Linked DNA regions of Homo sapiens: regions 1 and 2 are each linked to region 3. The links are contacts of gene promoters, found by promoter capture Hi-C in blood cells and fetal thymus (Javierre and others, 2016). All regions are on one chromosome and are shown on one strand. Each heading gives the region's core, a stretch centred on a gene start or on the middle of the fragment in contact. The rest is flanking DNA. Distances are from core to core; before and after follow the strand shown.

The links. Contacts are between HindIII fragments. The CHiCAGO score rates a contact against its expected background, and 5 or more counts as called.
Region 1: a contact is called between a fragment that was not itself captured here and the fragment with the promoter of HEBP1 in region 3, in 1 of 17 cell types (activated CD4 T cells). The highest score is 5.1, in activated CD4 T cells.
Region 2: the fragment with the promoter of MAGOHB here is called in contact with the fragment with the promoter of HEBP1 in region 3 in 3 of 17 cell types (non-activated CD4 T cells, naive CD4 T cells and activated CD4 T cells); the score reaches 7.3 in non-activated CD4 T cells.

The regions. Positions count from the first base shown.
Region 1 is chr12:10,363,901-10,366,600 of GRCh38, forward strand. It overlaps KLRK1-AS1 (KLRK1 antisense RNA 1), which reads left to right. Exons shown (of 4, transcript NR_120430.1): 1 at 1-133. Among named protein-coding and RNA genes, the nearest start is that of KLRK1-AS1, 1.5 kb to the left of the region's middle. RefSeq lists enhancers at 340-389, 850-919. The HindIII fragment of the contact is 1,966 bases long and covers 269-2,234 here.
Region 2 is chr12:10,612,056-10,614,883 of GRCh38, forward strand. It overlaps MAGOHB (mago homolog B, exon junction complex subunit), which reads right to left and starts at 1,554. Exons shown (of 5, transcript NM_018048.5): 1 at 1,384-1,554. The coding sequence starts at 1,477. RefSeq lists enhancers at 611-1,490, 1,275-1,674, 1,491-2,368. The HindIII fragment of the contact is 2,009 bases long and covers 1-1,888 here.
Region 3 is chr12:12,999,005-13,001,739 of GRCh38, forward strand. It overlaps HEBP1 (heme binding protein 1), which reads right to left and starts at 1,261. Exons shown (of 4, transcript NM_015987.5): 1 at 1,033-1,261. The coding sequence starts at 1,110. All of the region lies in intron 2 of GPRC5D-AS1 (GPRC5D and HEBP1 antisense RNA 1), which reads left to right. It also overlaps the pseudogene HTR7P1. RefSeq lists silencers at 1,126-1,275, 1,326-1,445, 2,206-2,355. The HindIII fragment of the contact is 1,773 bases long and covers 346-2,118 here.

The DNA.
Region 1 (2,700 bases), core at 2-2,501, 2.6 Mb before region 3:
ATCCAAGGTGTGCCACAGCTGAGCTTCACCCGGATATATAGACCAGCTCTCCCCACGTCCCAGCACCCTGCCTGGCAGCGCAATGGAACCGAGGATGGGGCTGCAGGACGATACCAGCACTTCAGGAACTGTGGTAAGGAGTATAGGCCCAAGGCAGGAAAGCCCGTCCCATAGGGACAAAGGGGAGCTTGATCACCTCCCAGGGACTGACCACTAATCCAACCCAGAGTGGCTGGGGGCAGCAGGAGTGGCCTGCCAATTTGGATGAAGCTTATGTCCCCACTAACAAAGTGAAAGTGGTTCACTGGATCTGGAGACAGGAACTGGGAGTGGTGTGTGTATGTGTGTGAATATGGGAGCCTAACTAGGCTCACCCAGGTCATGAGAGAGGCTCATTCCATCCGATGAGGACTCCTGCAGTAGGAGTGGTGTATGTGTGTGAAAGTGGGAGCCTAACTAGACTCACCCGGGACATGAGAGAGGCTCATTTCGTCCAATGAGGAATCCTGGGGCAAGGAAGGTGTGTGAAAGTGTGTGAAAGCGATGGTCTCGGGAGAGGCCAATGCAGGGAGTGACGTGGGGAGGCACAGATCCCTTAGCACGGGCTGTGTGCTCTGAGGCGAGTGTGGGGGGAAATCAGACCTAGGACATTGCATACAGCTGATAGGACGAGCTTTGCAGCTGTAGCAGGCTGTGACAGGGGAAGACACCTTCCTGGCTAAGCAGTGTCCGAAACTCCTGTAATAGGACCGGGTCTGCTGGACCTGAGAGTGAAAGTGAGAGTGAGAGTGAGAGTGTGCCGCAAGGGAGGAAATGGGAGGGAAAGCGTCAAAACCAACTCCTTTGGAGTGCATGATAAAAATTTTAAAGAAAGGATTTAGAGGTGATTGTGGGATGAAACTGGATGTTCAAAAGTTAAAGACATACTGTGAATTACAATAGCCCTCTTTTAGTGTCAGATGGCTGGCCGAAGGCACTGTAGAGAAATTGGCCGTGTGTTTTAAGGTGGTGACTAGGGTCGGAGGACAGCCAGGGCATTCAGACCTAGTCTTTATATTGACTCATGGCTAAATGTACGCAGCCCTGCCTAGCAGTTTATTGTAGAATGCTCGCAGCTCACGCCGAGATAAACCAACTGTGCTGGCAGCTACGGAGTTAAAGGGAAAGTCACAGAGGCTTCTAGCACCACCGATCCAAAAGTGAAAGTGAAAGTCAGCTGCCCTGGAAGCTATGCAGACCAAAAAAAAAAAAGAGTCTCAGGAAAGAGAAAACCAGTTTTGCAAGAATCACAGGATGGAATAGAGATCCTTCCTACCTATATTCCAATCTATCCCCCCTTACCAAGGCTAATTGCCCCTAAGGAGGTAAGTTCAAACAGATACATGCTCCCACTCTCACCTGAGAAGGAGAAATCGGAGCTCCAGGAAGTTAAAACGAAAGGCTCAAAAAGGTAGGCAGGCCGTCTCAGGTCAAGTCATGCCCAAGTTATGCTTCTGCCTCTTAAGAGGACAAGCAGACCCCCACTAGGACCCAGACGATGCAGTCCAGCTTCAGCACCTACAAAAGTGCCGAGAAGCACTTTTACAAAGGCTAAAGGATGTTAAAAGGAAAAGGCAACCAATATAAAAAAATCTCAGAAGTGCTCCATGGTGCAGATAAAAGCACCAGCCAGTTTTATAGGCATTTTGCTTGTACACTCTGTTTAACCCCGAGGCTGCTGAAAATCAGTGAATAGTAAATACGGCATTTGTAAGGCAGGCCCAAGGAGATATCAGGCATAAATTGCAGAAGTTAGAAGCTCCGTAGGTGTGAATGCTACTCAGCTTATTAAAGTGGCTACCAAGGTGTACATTAACTGAGACCAGGAGGCAAAGAAGAAAGCTGATTGGAGGCTTAATAAAGGCTTATTTACAAGCAGCAGCCCTTATGGGAAGAGAGGCTGGCTTTGCAAGGAGGCATAGATGCGGGTGTGAATGCAGTTGTGGAAAAGGCTAGTCTGGACAGCAATTTGAAAGCCAGCCAAGGCTAGAGAGAGATTAATGTACATGGTGCAAAAGAAAAGGACACTAGAAGGATAAATGTCAAAAGAATAAGGAGAATGGTCAAGGCCATGGTATGAAAAAACCACTGGCCAAGGGCTACTGCACCCAGGAGAAACCCAAGACTGCTGTGAAAGGCAGGATATAAAGGGTCAGAAAAAAGCTCAGATCTGCTCGAAAAGTGTCCAGTACTTAAGCTTTTACATAAGCCAAGAGGAAAGATGGCTTAGTAGTGAACAAAAGCAGGCTGTTTGTGCACTTCCTACTCCAACCACCTGGCGTCGAATAACAGAGTTCCTAAGGGCAGCAAAGTTCTTCCGCATTTAGATCCCAAATTTCTTGCTTGTGGCTAAGCCATTATACAAAGCCACAAAGAGGAGGAAAGAAGGACTCCTCCTCTAGGAGGCCAACCAGAAGAAGGCTTTTCAAAAAATCAAAGAAGCCTTGACTCAGATCCCAGCTTTAGGACTGCCAGATCTAACTAACTAAGCTTATCTTCTTGAATGTCCACAAGTGAAAGGGAGGCCATAAAGATTCTAACTCAAGCCATAAGGTCATGGCATTGCCCAGTGACACACTTATCCAGGCAGTTAGATTCTGTGGCACTTGGATGGCCTCCTTGTTTTAAAGCACTAGCTGCTACTGCCCTACTGGCACAAGA
Region 2 (2,828 bases), core at 304-2,803, 2.4 Mb before region 3:
TAAATAATTGCAGGGCTGGCCCGGTGGCTCATGCTTGTAATCCCAGGACTGTGGGTGGCTGACGCTGGTGGATCCCTTGACCTCAGGGGTTTGAAGCCAGCCTGGGCAACATGGGGAAACCCATCTCTACAAAAAATAACATAACATAACATAACATAACATAACATAACATAACATAACATAACATAACATAATTAGCTGGGTGAGGTGGCGTGGGCCTGTATTCCCAGCACCTCGGCAGGCTGAGGTGAGGGATCACTTGCACTAGGGAGGGGGAGGTTGCAGTGAGCTGAGATCGTGCCACTGCACTCAGATCTGGGTGACAGAGTGAGACCTTGTTTCAAAATAATAATAATAATAATAATTGCAGGACTGTAGTTAACGTGAGTTCTGCCTGAAATGCTTGATACTCTTCTCCTTTCCTAATATACGTTCCTTCTCTAATTTTTTATTCTTGCTCTCACAGAACATTGTCCAAAGCCTGCTTATAGGACTTAATATGCATACTGCTTTATAGTTAAATGTCTGTGCCTCCCACCAAGACAAATCTGCTTTAGTTAAATTTGTCTTACTCATTACTGTACCTTAAAATTTTGTATTTGCTTGTTGTCCAGCACAAAACGTGCATTCAAAAAAACCCAAAAAATATATATCCAAATGAACTTTCTTGTTGCAGGTAGGCAAGATCAATGTAACATTCTCTAAGGATAGCGCTGTCAGAAAACACACTGTTGCACACTACTTGGGTAGCAGTTTCACCTCATCCTCTGCTCATACTGCTCTGGAAGTCTGTTTTTTTCTCTCAAAGGCCAAGTCTCTCATTTCGAGACTCATCTCAAGAGTGCCGTCCTCTAAGAAGATCTTCCTGACTCCCTCCTGTGGAACTTTACCTCTCCCCTCTTGCTTGGTACTCTTCATGCGTCCTATGGTGAACAATTACACGTAAACACCTAAAACATATTATTATTCTCATTTGTTAACACGTTGGGCTCCTCCCCTTCAAAGAAAACACACAGCCTAAATGAAAAAAAGGTACTGGTCACCACAAGATTTTATTCATCCACTGGACCACCCGCTGGTGGGGGTGTTTTCAAAAAAGTGCTAGCATTTTCAATCAGGGCGACGATCTAGAGTCCCTTCTGGTGCACTGTTACAGAATTCTGATTACTGTAGGTTCAACTTTTCAGTTTGTGACAGGATTAGCTTTAATTTATTGCAATTAATTCTCTTTCATTTATAAAACCAACTTATGCCTCCTCTATTCTTAAGCTCCTATTTCCTTCGAGGGAAGCAGTGGCCTCCGCCGCCTGTACCCTCCACACCACCCGGCCTCTCGGTCTCGCTCCCCTTTCCCAGCACCGCGTGCCGTGGGCCTCTTCTCACCGTCCGGCCGAAATTCGAACTCCAGAAACTCGTGCCCAAACTTGCCCTTGTGCCCTACGTAGTAGCGCAGGTAGAAATCGCTAGCCACAGCCATTTTTGTACCCGGGAAGCCCGCCGAAAACGCAGCCAACGTGTCCCCCGGCGCCTTGCAGTGACGTCATCGCGCGGAATAAGTGCGTCACCACAGGCGCTTCTCTTCCTCCTGCAGTGCAGCCCTAGACTAAAGCGTGAAAGCCGAGTATCGCGTGAGAGTCCGGAGGCGCTGAAGGGAGGGTCGCAGCGCCGTGACTTTCGCTTTACTAGGAATGGAGGCACATTGTTTTCAAAATAAAGATTACATTATACTAGCAAAGATTAGAAATGTGAGCATATGATAGTCTTTTTTATGGACTTAGAGCTAAAGGTTTGCAAGTCACTTTTACTTTTCTGGTCTCCCAATCCTTGCGGCGTTTGTGAGGTGGGTGTGGCTCTATGCCCCCTTTAACTGTGAGCTAAATAAAGATAAAGCTTAGAATCGAAATGGCAGACCGGGAATATAAACTATTTTTCTTACTTAATTTCTAACAGGGTGCTTTCCCTTTGGATAGCGATTGGTAGTTACCCGGGACCTCTAAGCCTATAATAATAGAGACAAAGTCAAAGGAATCCAACTCTTAAAACCCTCACACCCCCCACACCTGAAAAACCCTGACAGTCACCGTGCTTTTTTTAACAGCAGAACTTCTAAGGTTCTTAATTCATTCAATAAGGGTTAACTTTTAGTAGCCTGTGAAGTTTTGGCAATTTGACTTACGATACAATAATGGTTTAGCCCATTATTGTTTCTCGCCAGATAGAATTAAATTGGGGGAATGAAAGAATGCTCCAGTGTGGCGTAGTTTTTAAGGTAAGGGAAAGACTTTTACACAAAGTTTCCTTTTCAGATATTATTGATCACCCTTTTGTTATCAACACACAGAGTAATCCTATCTGTCGGTTGACAACCTTCAGTGATTTTTAGTAGAAAGTGGTGGAGAGAAGACCTGGGATTCAATCCCAACACTTAACAGCTAACTAACCTCGGGCAAGTGACTATCTCTAAGCCTGTTTGTTCATCAGCCTAATGCATATACAGCAATCTACATTGCCAAGCTCACAGAATTCTTGAGAGATCTAATGAGATAATATGTAAAATAAGCTTTAAATTTTATAAAACATTAGTTTTAACAAACATTTCCTATGTGACAGTTTGAAACTAGAAATAAGCCATTTGATCTGGTAGTCTAGAAAAGAAAGCAAACACGTAAGGCGAATACCAGCACAAGGGAGCAATTGCTATAATTAAGAATATATGTGCCATCCTGGCCAGCATGGTGAAACCCCGTCTCTATTAAAAATACAAAAAAATTAGCTGGGCGTGGTGGCGCGTGCCTGTAATACCAGATACGCGGGAGGCTGAGGCAGGA
Region 3 (2,735 bases), core at 11-2,510:
CACTCCTACACATCCCTGAGGCCCCAGCTCAGGACACTCCACTGAGGTCCCCATCATAGCCCCCTGGCAGAATTGACTGCCTCTGTGCTCCCTGCGTAGCGCATTTATATCTATTCTGCACAGATCTTGTTCTTTTACACAGTAGTCCCCCTTATCTATAGTAGATACCTTCCAAGCCCCCCAGTGGATACCTGAAACGGTGGACAAAACTGAACCCTGTATCTACTACGTTTTTTCCTATACATACATACCTATGATATAGTTTAACTTTATCAATTAGGCACAGTAAGAGATGAACAACAATAATAAAATAACAGCAATTATAACAATATGCCAGCATTGCTAAGCTTGCACTTTGGGGCCATTACTAAGTAAAATAAGGGTTACTTCAATACCGCCACGGTCGATCCGATCACCAAGCTAGCTACTAAGTGACTAAGGGCGGCTACTAGAGATAGGAGGCTGACCTTGGACAAAGGGGCATTCCGGTCCCAGGAATCAAGATTTCATCCTGCTACGCAGAATGGCCGGAAACTTAAAACTTAGGACTTCTGTATTTCTGGAATTTTCCATTTAATAGTTATGGACAAGAGCTGACCACAGGTAACTGAAATCGCGGATAAAGGGGGCTACTATCCGCAGTTCTCTAGTACTTGGGAGTTTCTTGCGACACTCATTTCTGCAACCGAGTGTCTCTCAACAAATCAAACTGTTCGGAATGTTTGGAATATTTTAAACGAAAGAATGCATTCAACAGGCAGTGCCCAACTCCCCAAGTTGGGATTCTCTCCTTGGATCAGTCTCTCCTGTTTACCCCCCTCCTCTCACCACCGGCTGCAGGGGGACCTCTCACTCCTTTCCTTCCCAGTCCAAATGCTGGGCGGTGGAGAGCCGCACTCGCGACAGACACCAGAACGCACCTTCGATAGCACATTCCTGCCCCACCTGCCCCTCAGCACCCGCTGCAGCCCCGACGAGGGTGGGGGTGGGAGGCAGCAATCCTTCAGGTCCTCGGCAGCCCTGCGGGCCTACCTTGTCCCCTTTGCTTAGGACCTGCCAAGGCCACGTCTCTACGCTTCCGAACAGCGAGTTCTTGATCATGCCCAACATGTTGTAGCCGAGACGCTCCCGACGCACGGGAGGACGTGAGGTGGCGGGGGCGACGGAGCACCACGGGCAGCGACCACCGGCGGCAGGGCGGCAGGGCGGCAGGGCGGCAGGGCGGCAGGGTGGCAGGGCGGCAAGGCGGCGGGACGGCGAGGCGGCGAGGCGAGAGGCGGGGCTAGAGGCAGGGGCCAGAGGGCGTGGCTAGAGGGCGGGGCGGCAATTCAGCCCGGCGGTGAGGCAAGGGGGCGGGACGGCGAGGTGAAGGGGCGGAGAGAGAGGGCGGGGCGGCGAGGCGAGGGGGCGGAGAGAGGGCGGGTCAGTGATGCGAAGGGCGGGCAGCAGGGCAGCAGTGCAGCAGTGCAGCAGTGCGGTGAGGCGAGGGTGCGAGGCGGCTAAGCAAGGGATGGGCCCGCCGTGGCGAGCCGCTGGGCCGTGTTCCGCCTCCTTTCGGGCTTTCCGCGGGTGTCTGGGGAGGGAACCCGGCCGCGGGCCTCAGGCCGTCCCCCTCCGCAGACCCCTTCTCTTATTCTGAGTCTAACCTATCCGCTGGGGCCCTGGAAAGCGATTCTCGCCTGGAGTGGCTTTAGGCAGCGGTGGTGGGGAACGTCCTCTCTCAGGTGCCTGGGCTCCAACCTCCGAGCCCCGGGTTGCTCACGCTTCTCCGGTCCTCTACCCGAAGGCTCGATCCCGCTGGTACAGCGGCGGCCAGGCTCCCTGTCTTGGTAGCTGTCCCTCTACCCCCGCCCCATGACCTCTTCTAGACCATTGAAAGAGCATCCAAACCACTTTCCTGCTGCCACTCTTTCCTACCATCCCTCTAAATCACAGTTTCCAGGTGACTTTTCTAAGCATGGCTTTTCTCGTTCACTCCTGTTCAAAAATCTTCTCACCAATTTTGTCACCATTTACTCAGCTGAGTGCCTGCTTTCTGTCAAGTATTTTACCAATAAATCTCTACTCCACACCACCGACAAGAAATATTTTGGAGCCATTTAAAAAGGAGGAAACGGAAGCTTCTGCCGCTGCCTGATCCTCCATTGCTCCGAGCCGCGCGGGTGCAGCGGGCTGTGGAGCCGCGGGCCGAGCCCCGCCGGAGCGCCCGAGAGCCCGCGCGTCCCGGGCGTCCGTCGGGGTCCGAGGTCCCTCCCTCAGGGAGTCCCCGCTCGGCAGCGCTCTCGCGTTTCACGCAGCGGCCGGGGATCTGGGACAGGCGGGGCCCCGAGGCCGAGCCTGGCGCTGCCCAGCGGCCGGTGCAGGCCTCAAGCTGGGCCGGGCGGAGGGGAACCGGCGAGTTGAAGCCCCGGGGCCGAAAGCCGGAGCCTGTGGCGGCCGCGGGGGTGGGGAGGGGGGTGGGGCGGCTTCTTGGGCAGCGCCACACGGCGGCGCAGTGATGGATGTTAACAGCAGCGGCCACCCGGACCTCTACGGGCGCCTCTGCTCTTTCCTCCTGCCGGAGGTGGGGGGCAGGCTGCCCGACCTGAGCCCCGACGGTGGCGCCGAACCGGTCGCGGTCTCCGGGACGCCGCATCTGCTGAGCGGGGGCCCCCGAGGTGACGGCCAGCCCGGCGCCCACCTGGGACGCAACCCCGGGCAATGCCTCCGGCCGCGGGGAGCAAATCAAGAAAGGG